Regions from separate parts of the Homo sapiens genome. Here regions 2 and 3 are each linked to region 1. The links are contacts of gene promoters, found by promoter capture Hi-C in human tissues and cell types (Jung and others, 2019). All regions are on one chromosome and are shown on one strand. Each heading gives the region's core, a stretch centred on a gene start or on the middle of the fragment in contact. The rest is flanking DNA. Distances are from core to core; before and after follow the strand shown.

The links. The method cuts DNA at HindIII sites, captures the fragments that hold promoters and counts their contacts. A contact is called where the count stands out against the background at its distance.
Region 2: a fragment that was not itself captured here is called in contact with the fragment with the promoter of TMA16 in region 1 in 1 of the 25 tissues and cell types used here (lymphoblastoid cells).
Region 3: a contact is called between a fragment that was not itself captured here and the fragment with the promoter of TMA16 in region 1, in 1 of the 25 tissues and cell types used here (dorsolateral prefrontal cortex).

The regions. Positions count from the first base shown.
Region 1 is chr4:163,493,097-163,496,083 of GRCh38, forward strand. It overlaps TMA16 (translation machinery associated 16 homolog), which reads left to right and starts at 1,594. Exons shown (of 7, transcript NM_018352.3): 1 at 1,594-1,708. The coding sequence starts at 1,706. LOC124900805 (a long non-coding RNA gene) reads right to left here and starts at 2,128. Exons shown (of 2, transcript XR_007058354.1): 1 at 2,066-2,128; 2 at 1-1,800. RefSeq lists a cis regulatory region at 1-203 and enhancers at 1,485-2,387, 1,851-1,990, 2,021-2,170. The HindIII fragment of the contact is 18,907 bases long and covers 1-2,987 here.
Region 2 is chr4:162,702,817-162,705,803 of GRCh38, forward strand. It overlaps LOC105377516 (a long non-coding RNA gene), which reads right to left. Exons shown (of 5, transcript XR_939412.3): 5 at 2,951-2,987. Among named protein-coding and RNA genes, the nearest start is that of MIR4454, 390 kb to the right of the region's middle. The HindIII fragment of the contact is 6,712 bases long and covers 1-2,987 here.
Region 3 is chr4:162,854,842-162,857,828 of GRCh38, forward strand. No RefSeq gene overlaps it. Among named protein-coding and RNA genes, the nearest start is that of MIR4454, 240 kb to the right of the region's middle. The HindIII fragment of the contact is 4,061 bases long and covers 1-2,987 here.

The DNA.
Region 1 (2,987 bases), core at 344-2,843:
TGCATGGCAGTTGCTGCCTGGCAGTTGCAAGCCCTTCTTTTTCTGTGTGGCAGTTGAAAAATGAAAGTGCCTCAGATTGGTCCCCTTCCTCAACCAATCAGACTTGTGGAAGACCAATGGGAAACCTCTAGAAGGTATTTAAACCCCAGAAAATTCTGCAACCTGTGCTTTTGAGCAGCTTGCCACAGCCTGCTTCCACGCAGTGGAGTAGTGTACTTTCATTTAAAATAAATCTCTGCTTTCGCTGCCTTGCTTTATTTGTGTGTTTTGTCCAATTATTTGTTCAAAACGCCAAGGACCTAGCCAACTACCCTCAACTGTTAACAGCTGCACACACATATCAAGGCACACCAGCTTCACCCTGCCTGGAGCTTCTTCCCATGCCTAGTTTTCTCTTACAATTCCGGTCTCTGCTCAATTATCACTTCTAAAAGAGGACTTTATAGAGACCACCATGTGTAAAACAGCTTTTCTACATGCCCCCGCCAGCTAATTTTTATTAGAGTACTTATATTATTTGAAATAATATTTTTACATGCCTCCATCCCCTGGAAAATGAGCTGAGTGAGGGATATTGTTGGAGTATCCCCAGTACCAGGCACACAGTAGGCATTCAATAAATAGTTTTTGAATGATTACATTGTCTACGGAATTCTAACATGTATGGGTGAAACAAAGACTCTCACATGCTGTGAGAAGAAAACAAAAACTGGGTTGGCAGAGGCCTTGAATATGAGGAAGTGGCCTTTCCGGATAAAGAAACTAAGACTCGGCCGGGCGTGGTGGCTCAGGCCTGTAATCTCAGCACTTTGGGAGGCCGAGGCGGACGGATCACCTGAGATCAGGAGTTCGAGACCAGCCTGGCCAACACGGCGAAACCCCGTCTCTACTAAAAATACAAAAAAAAAAAAAAAAAAAAAAAATTAGCCGGGCGTGGTGGCGGAGGCCTGTAATTCCAGCTGTTCGGGAGGCTGAGGCAGGAGAATCGCTTGAACCCGGGAGGAAGAAAGAAAGAGGGAATGAGGGAAGGCGGGAAAGAGGGAAAGAAGAAAAGAAAAGAAAGGAAAGAGAAGAGGGGCGGGGCGGGGCAGGGCAGGGCAGGGCAGGGCAGGGCAAAAAAAGACTCAGTGCAGGAAAGGACTTGCCCAAGGTAATCTAGTACGTGGAAAAGCGGAGGGCAGGAGCCTGTGCCGTGCAAGAGCTCCGGGGAGCCAACACCGAGCGGCCCTTTTGAGAGGGTCCCAGCCCCTGAGATGCGGGAGCCCGCAAGAGGGAACCTCTTGTCTGAAGAGGTTGCTGCGCTCTGGAGTCGTGCTCTGGGACAGATGGGCAAGCTCCGCTCTTGGGGCCGGAAGCGTGTAGCGTCTCCACCCGGGCTCCAATCCCCAGCCTCGCACTCAGCACCAGGCAGAGTTCAGCCTCCCGCCGCAAGCTCCCTTCCGCCGCTCCCGGCGAGCACGCAGGTCTGGCTGTCCGTTGGGCTAGAGCTTAAAAGCCCAACACGGGCGAAAAAGACGCGGTCTCAGTTAACGGGGACGCTTTAGAGAAACGCACTCGCCTCTCCTGTTCCGGTTGGGTCGGCGCGGGCTTCTCAGGCGCCACGTGGGATTCGGCCCGGGTGCTCTTGTGAGCTGCTGCTCCTGCGGTTGGTGAGATTACCTGGGTCTAGAGTGCGGAGCTGCTCCGTGGCCACGAGGACGTCACCATGGTGGGCCCCCTCCTGCTCCCCCGAACCGCTCGGTTGGTTCCCCGGAAGGCTCTTGTTGAGCAGGCAGAGAGGGAGGGTGCGGTTTCGGGAACCTAGGAGAGGGGAGGATGCAAAGTGTTTATTTTCAGGGAGTGTGCGGGGTGCGGGGCGAAGCCTCTGGGAGGCGAGTCCCAGGCCCAACGCCTGGACCTTAGAGTTCCGCGTCCGAGTGCTGAAGTGCTCACACGTCGCCTTGCTCCTCTTTGCCTTGTGCCTAACTTCTCGCTAGTCACTACTTCCTGGGGGAAACCCGGCACCTTTCCATTGTAACGCATCGAGGAGTTTGGCAAAACTTCTGAGATCGCTGGCCCTACACACCTCTGCCTCTCTGGCCTGGGTAGACTCAGTATGTGGGCTTAGTCGCCTCTTCCTCGGCGTCCGTTCACCTCTCGTTAGTGCCCTGAATCCTGCCGTTACGCCCCCATTCGCTCCAGGGCACTGAAGCAGTTTTGTTGTTTTTATTAAAAACTGAGTAGATACAAAAGAGTGTTACTAAAGCACATTTCAAGTGTAAAGATGAACAGTTTCAGGAATTCTCGTTTACCCATTTTGTAGTTTTAAGAAATAAAACATAGCCTTTGAAAGCCCTGTGTTACCTTCTTTGAACTTTCAGGAAACCTTAAGAAGCAAACATTATCTAAGTTTTGTATTTATAATTTCACTACTTTTCTTTATAGTTACTACATATATTTGTATTTTGAAACAGTATGTTGTTTCTTGCCTATTTTTTACGTAATCGTTGTGTTCTTGAGAGTAATTCTTGCATAGAAACATGCTTTATAAATTTTTTTCAATTAATTTTTAATAAAAGCAAAATTTTAAAAGTTTATAATCTGGTCAGAAGTTACGATATTGTGTCCACAATGTGGCCTCTTTGTTTCTTTTCATTTTTTTCTCTTTTCATTGTATGCCATTTTTGTCTTACAGTCTGGTTCTTTCGTTGTTTCGCGAGTTTTTTGTGCTTTATTTTGATCCACTGCTGACGCATATTTTGTACTTTAGATTGTACACATTTGTGTAAATTCAGTGTTTGCTTGTCACTTTGCTTGTGGGATTTCCAACTCTTTATAGTGTTAGTTTTTTTCCCCTTTTCAGAGTGGAATATGAAAGCAATTACATCTCATTGTGTTTGAGTGATTGGGGAGATAGATTGGTATTTGACTGTAGTTGTCCTTGACTATCAGAGCTTCACTTTTTATCAGGCTGTATAGTAGAAGTACGTTGCTTTGGCATAGAAGTC
Region 2 (2,987 bases), core at 125-2,624, 790 kb before region 1:
GTTCTAGGAACTAAGAAATGCTTGACATACATTTGATTATTCAGAATAAGACCACAATCATTTGCATTAGAGAGCCTTTACTAAAGACTATGATGCTTTTCTTAATTGAAGATCCTCAGCAGTTGAATGACTTTTTCAGGTATCTCTTGGTATACTAAAGAAGAGCTTTCCCTTTTCTAATTTTCAGAATTTCTCTAAAATGAATAAAGGAAAAGAAAAGACAAAACATAAGAAAGAAAGAAAAGAAAGAGTAGATATTAGAAACTTTCAAGATAAAAGCCAATATGAAACCACAAAAGACCTTGAATAACCAAAGAAATCTTGAACAAGACCAAAGCTGCAGGCACTGCACTACCTGATTTCAAGATAAACTCCAAAGCTATAGTAGTCAAAACAATATATTACAGGCATAAAAACATACATGTAGACCAATGAAACAAAATATTAAGCTGAGAAGCAAATCCACATATTTATGTTCAGTTGGTCTCAGGCAAAGATTCCAAGAACATATAGTGGGGAAAGGACAGTCTCTTCCACAAATGTTGATGGTAAAACTGGATATCCACACACAAAAGAAAGAGACTGAACCCTTATCTCACACAACAAAAATCAACTCAAGATAGATTAAAGACTTACATGTAAGAACTGAATTTATAAAACTACTAGAAGAAAACGTGGGAGAAAAGCTCTGTGACATTGTTCTGGGCAATGATTTTTTTGAATAAGACACTCAAAACATAGAAAACAGAAGCAAAAATAGACAAATAGGCTACATCTGAATTGCAAAGGAAAAAATGAGCAGAATGAAGAGACAACTTAAGTGATGGGAAAAAATATTTGTAAACCATATATCTAATAAGGGATTGGAATTCACAACAAATAAGGAACTCAAACAACTCAATTGCAACAAAATAAATAACTTGATTCCAAAGTGGGCAAAGGATATGAGTAGACATTTTTCAGAAAGACATACAAATGGCCAATAGGTATATTTTTTAAGAATTTCAACCTCATTAATCATTAGGAAAATGCAAATCAATACCACAATATTACCTCACACCTGTTAGAGTGGCTTTTATCAAAAAGATGAAAGATAAGTGTTGGCAAGAATGCGGAGAAAAGGGAATTCCTGTCTACTGTTACTGAAAATGTCAGTTGGTACAGCCATGATGGAAAATAGTATGAGGGTTTTCTGAAAAATTAAAAATAGAAAAGTAGAGCTATCTTATAATCCAGCAATCCCATTTTTGTATATATTCAAAGGAATTAAAATCAGTGTCTTGAAGAGATATCTGCACTCCCATGTTCATTGCAGCATTAATCAAAACAGATAAGTTATGAAACCAACCTAAGTGCTCACCAACAGATGAAAGAAAGGGAATTTTGGTGTGTGTGTACACACACACACAGACACAACGGAATATTATTCCATCTTAAGAAAGATGAAAATACTGTTATTTGAGACAACATGAATGAACTTGGAGGACATTATATTAAGTGAAATAAGCCAGGTACAGAAAGACAAATATTGCATTATCTTATTTATATGTGAAATCTAAAAGGGATGAGTTCATAGAAGCAGAGTAGAATTGTGGTTTCCAAGGGTTGGAGGGTTAGGAAAGTGTGAAAATTTTTGTCAAAGGGTACAAAATTTCAATTATATAGGATGAATGAGTTCTGGAGATCTAATGTATAGCATAGTGATTATAGTTAACATTACTGTAGTGTAGACTTGAAATTTGCCAAGGCAGTAAATCTTATGTGTTCTCACCACACACACATAACTGTGAGGTCATGGATATATTAATTAGCTTGATTGTGGTGATTATTTCACAATGTACATGTATATCAAAATATCACATCATGTGCATTAAATGTATATAAGTTTTGTTTGTCAATTATACTTCAATAAAACTGGGAAAAGAAACAGTCAGTAAGCCAGTATTTCATGAAGTCCCAATGGGTAACCATTATCCAAGGAAGCCACAAAGAGTTTAATGTGATGTAAAACACTAAAAAGTAAAACAAACAAACAAGCAAATAAACAGAATGATTAAGACTAAAGTTTACTACTGGTTTAGCATTACTCAGTAACTAATTAGAAATTTATCCTTCTTTGCATGTGGCTTGTTCAATGAATCATTTGAAACATTATAGTAGAGCTTTTAAAATGTGTAAGTTCACATAGAGGGACTAGTGAATGTATTATTATTTAAGAAAAAAAGATAAGAATAAAAGAAAAAGAATAAAAATAGGATAAAAGAAAGAGGGTTAAGAAGGAAGAAAGGCTGAAAGAAAAATATAAGACTTTCTCTTTTTTGCAATGGATAATTTGGACTCATTAAATATATTTTACTAATTCTTTATTCTCTCACTTTTCCATTTCTCTTTCCCCAAAACACAATATTCTTCTGGTCATTTGACCTCCCCTGGCATCCCCTGCCTCCACTGCTTGCACTATAGCTGTAGCTGTCAGTGGATGCAGTGTCCTTTATTGTACCATGACTTGACTGCCTTGGGATTTGGTGCAGATGTTAAAAATAGAGTCACAGAATGCTATTTCAACCCTGTACAGCAATCTTTAATACACGCTAAAGTCTGGAGGACAGATACTTCCTTTTCCAGATAAACTTACAGGTATGGTTTTACATGTTGACTTAGTTTTTTACTTAGCAGACATATCCACAGGAGACTTGGGAAGGCAAAATTAAACCCCCTGAATTAGAGACTACTATTTCTGATGACAAGTATGGCAGTGGATATGTTTTCCCCCATGGCAGCTGAAGCAGGGGGCTTAGTGTCTTATTTTTAGTGTTGTTTATGTCAAGAGGTAGATATAGGCCATGAATCATGCTGGTGCAAATGGCAGCAGAAATAATTTTATTCTGGAGCCAGAAGAGTTGTGCTATGTATTTCTTTCCCAGATCGCAATAGAAGTGGATTTTAGGAACTCAGATATTGAAGGGTGAAAAACTAGTGCCCTGTTT
Region 3 (2,987 bases), core at 216-2,715, 640 kb before region 1:
ATTTTTAGTTCGCAATACAGTATTATTAACTATCATCACCATGCTGTACATTAGATCCCCAGAACTTATTCATCTTATAACAAAAAGTTTGTACTCTTTAACCAGCTTTAAAGAAACATAGCAAAACACTTCCAATAGATTATTTATTTATTTATTTATTTTTTGAGACAGAGTTTTGCTCTTGTCGCCTAGGCTGGAGTGCAATGGCGCAACCTCAGCTCATTGCAACCTCTGCCTCTTGGGTTCAAGCAATTCTCCTGCCTCAGCCTGCCAAGTAGCTGGGATTACAGGTGCCCACCACCATGCCCAGCTGATTTTTTGTATTTTTAGTAGAGATGGGGTTTCACCAGGTTGGCCAGGTTGGTGTTGAACTCCTGACCTCAAGTGATCCACCTACCTCGGCCTCCCAAAATGCTGGGATTACAGGCATGAGCTACCGTGCCCAGTCTTGTAATAGAGTTGAAAGTGTTTTTTCAAATAAGATTGTTCCTGAATGCTCAGGTGGGGAAAAAAAGAATCCTCCGTATCACATTGATTAAATATAGTTGTTGGTTGTTCTCAACTCAAAATCTATTTGTCTAGAATTTGGCACAACTTCACAAAGTTATTGAAGTATTTTACATAAGTTTTGACAAATATTTTACCAAACTCTTGTGCCAGTGTAACTTAATGTGCACGTAACTAAATTCTGCTCCTGTTTATCCTATTTAGGTTTATTTTCAGAATTCCCTTAGTAATACCAAAATCTTCACTTATTTATCATATTATTCTTATGAGTTTTATCTTTAACAAATTGTTTTATGAAGCTCCTAAAATTAAATATCATAGACTATTGGTCTTCATAGATTTAAGATCTGTTATTTTGACACGTAGTACTGTGAAATTTAGCTAAGCCTCAAATGTAACATGAGAGTTACTCTTAAAAATGGTTTAGCATCAGCCAGACAGAAAAAATGGGAAAATTATATATAAATCTATGGCGATGCTATAGACTGTGGTGTGCTTGGACTCTTGGAAGCTCATTATGCGTGACTATATGCTACCTGCTAGAACGTGGCAGATCACATTAGAAAGGCAAACAAAGGACAAATCTCGAAAGTCTAGAATTGTCCTGCTTAGCACTTTGAACATTATCCTGAAAACAATGGGAAATATTGAAAACTGTTGGAAAGAGAAGTAACATGATCATCAGAGATAAACTAACTAGTTTTGTTCTTTTTAAATTTCAATGTTTTGGCAGTAATCATGTGATTTCAGAAGTGTCATAGGCAAAACAAGAATACCAGTTATTCAAGTGCATTGAAAGTGGTAAAGACTAAATCTAGGACCATGATATGAAGATTTCATTAAAAATTCAGTAGATATGTAGAAAATAAAAGTGACCAAAGTTATAAATAATTTTGAATTAGTGTAAGTTTACAATGTGTCTCGAGTTTATAATTTGATTGAATAGAAGGTTGGCTAATAATTTTGAGGTATCAGATGTAGTAGTCAGATCATTTTTCTAACAGATTAGTCTCTCTCTCTCTGTTTCTCTCCTCTCTGTCTCTTAAAAAATTCCTTGCTACTAATAATTACTGAACTTTTAAAAAGTGGCAGAGAGTGACGAGACTACAGTAATTGTTCTCTGTATAAGTCAGGCATCAGCTGGGCTCACACTGCCTAAAAAAAAACTAGGCAAATTTGATTAGAACCCATATTCCATACTCTACATAAAGTTTATTTTCATAGTCTATATTCTTATGATTTCTGAGAGTTCTGATATTCCCATGGTCATCTTTTGTTCAAGCTTATTGCCTTTGCTGAATTACTTTTTTCCTCTATATATCATGCTTCTAACATCAAATGTATATCAACTCTATTCTGGGGAGAAAAAATACATATATAGTATGTATATGTGTATAGATATACATATATAGTATGTATATGTGTATAGATATACATACATATATACACATATACCCACAAATACTTTTTTTCACTCAAAGGAACTATACGTATAGAGACCATTACTAAATTTTAGTGCTCATACTTGATTTGTATCACAAAAATGTCAACAATTCAATATTTAACATCTAATGTCTTTAAGGTCTTTCAGCTGCTCAGTCATGTTGTTCATTTACTTATTCTCTTTTCTTTTCTTCTACTTTTGGTCTTTCTCTTTAAGGAATAGAAACCCTCGAATTGATCCTGTTTTCTTATGGTAAGTCAGTTCTCTGTAGTCTATACTTTAAAACCCATTGCCTAATCTCCTTTGGCACATCCAAAAACAGAAAAGCTTAGAAATGACAGTCTTCTGGATGTTGATTTTTCATCCAAGGGCCAAATTTCTTTCTGCTTTTTTTCTATGATTAGAAATGCATTTGTGTTCAGAGGGGAATCCCTGCTTCACCTTTTGGTTATTTTCCACGAAACAAAATACACGTGGAAATTTGAGTGTATGCTACTAGTCAAGTGCTTTTTTTAAAACTTAGCTTTATAATGAGCTTAAGAGCAAAGAAGATAAAGAAATTACTCTTTTTCCAAAAATAGAGATGGGGTCTTGCTCTGTAACCCAAGCTGAAGTGTAATGACGTGTCTATAGCTCATTGCAGTCTCCATGGGGGCTTAAGGAATCCACCCTACCTCAGCCTTCAGAGTAGCTGGGATTACAGGTCTGTACTAGCACACCTGGCTTAGAGATGACTCTTTAAATTTAAACAGTTTTAAACTAAGATGGAAATGCCATAAGGACTAAGGACAGGGAACTTGTTTTAGCCTTATTCACTGCTTTAGCCCCAGAATCCAGAATTTTAATGGCATGTGACATACATTTAATGTATATTCAGATGATGGAATATGTCATATTTTAACAGCAAAGTAACAGCTATTACAGCTGACCTTTCCCCTTACAGTTATCTCACGGTCATGTAAAAAGAGAGAAAGGTTTTCCATCATATATGTATGTATCTTACTGTGCTGTAGGACTTTTTTTTTTAACACTTTCT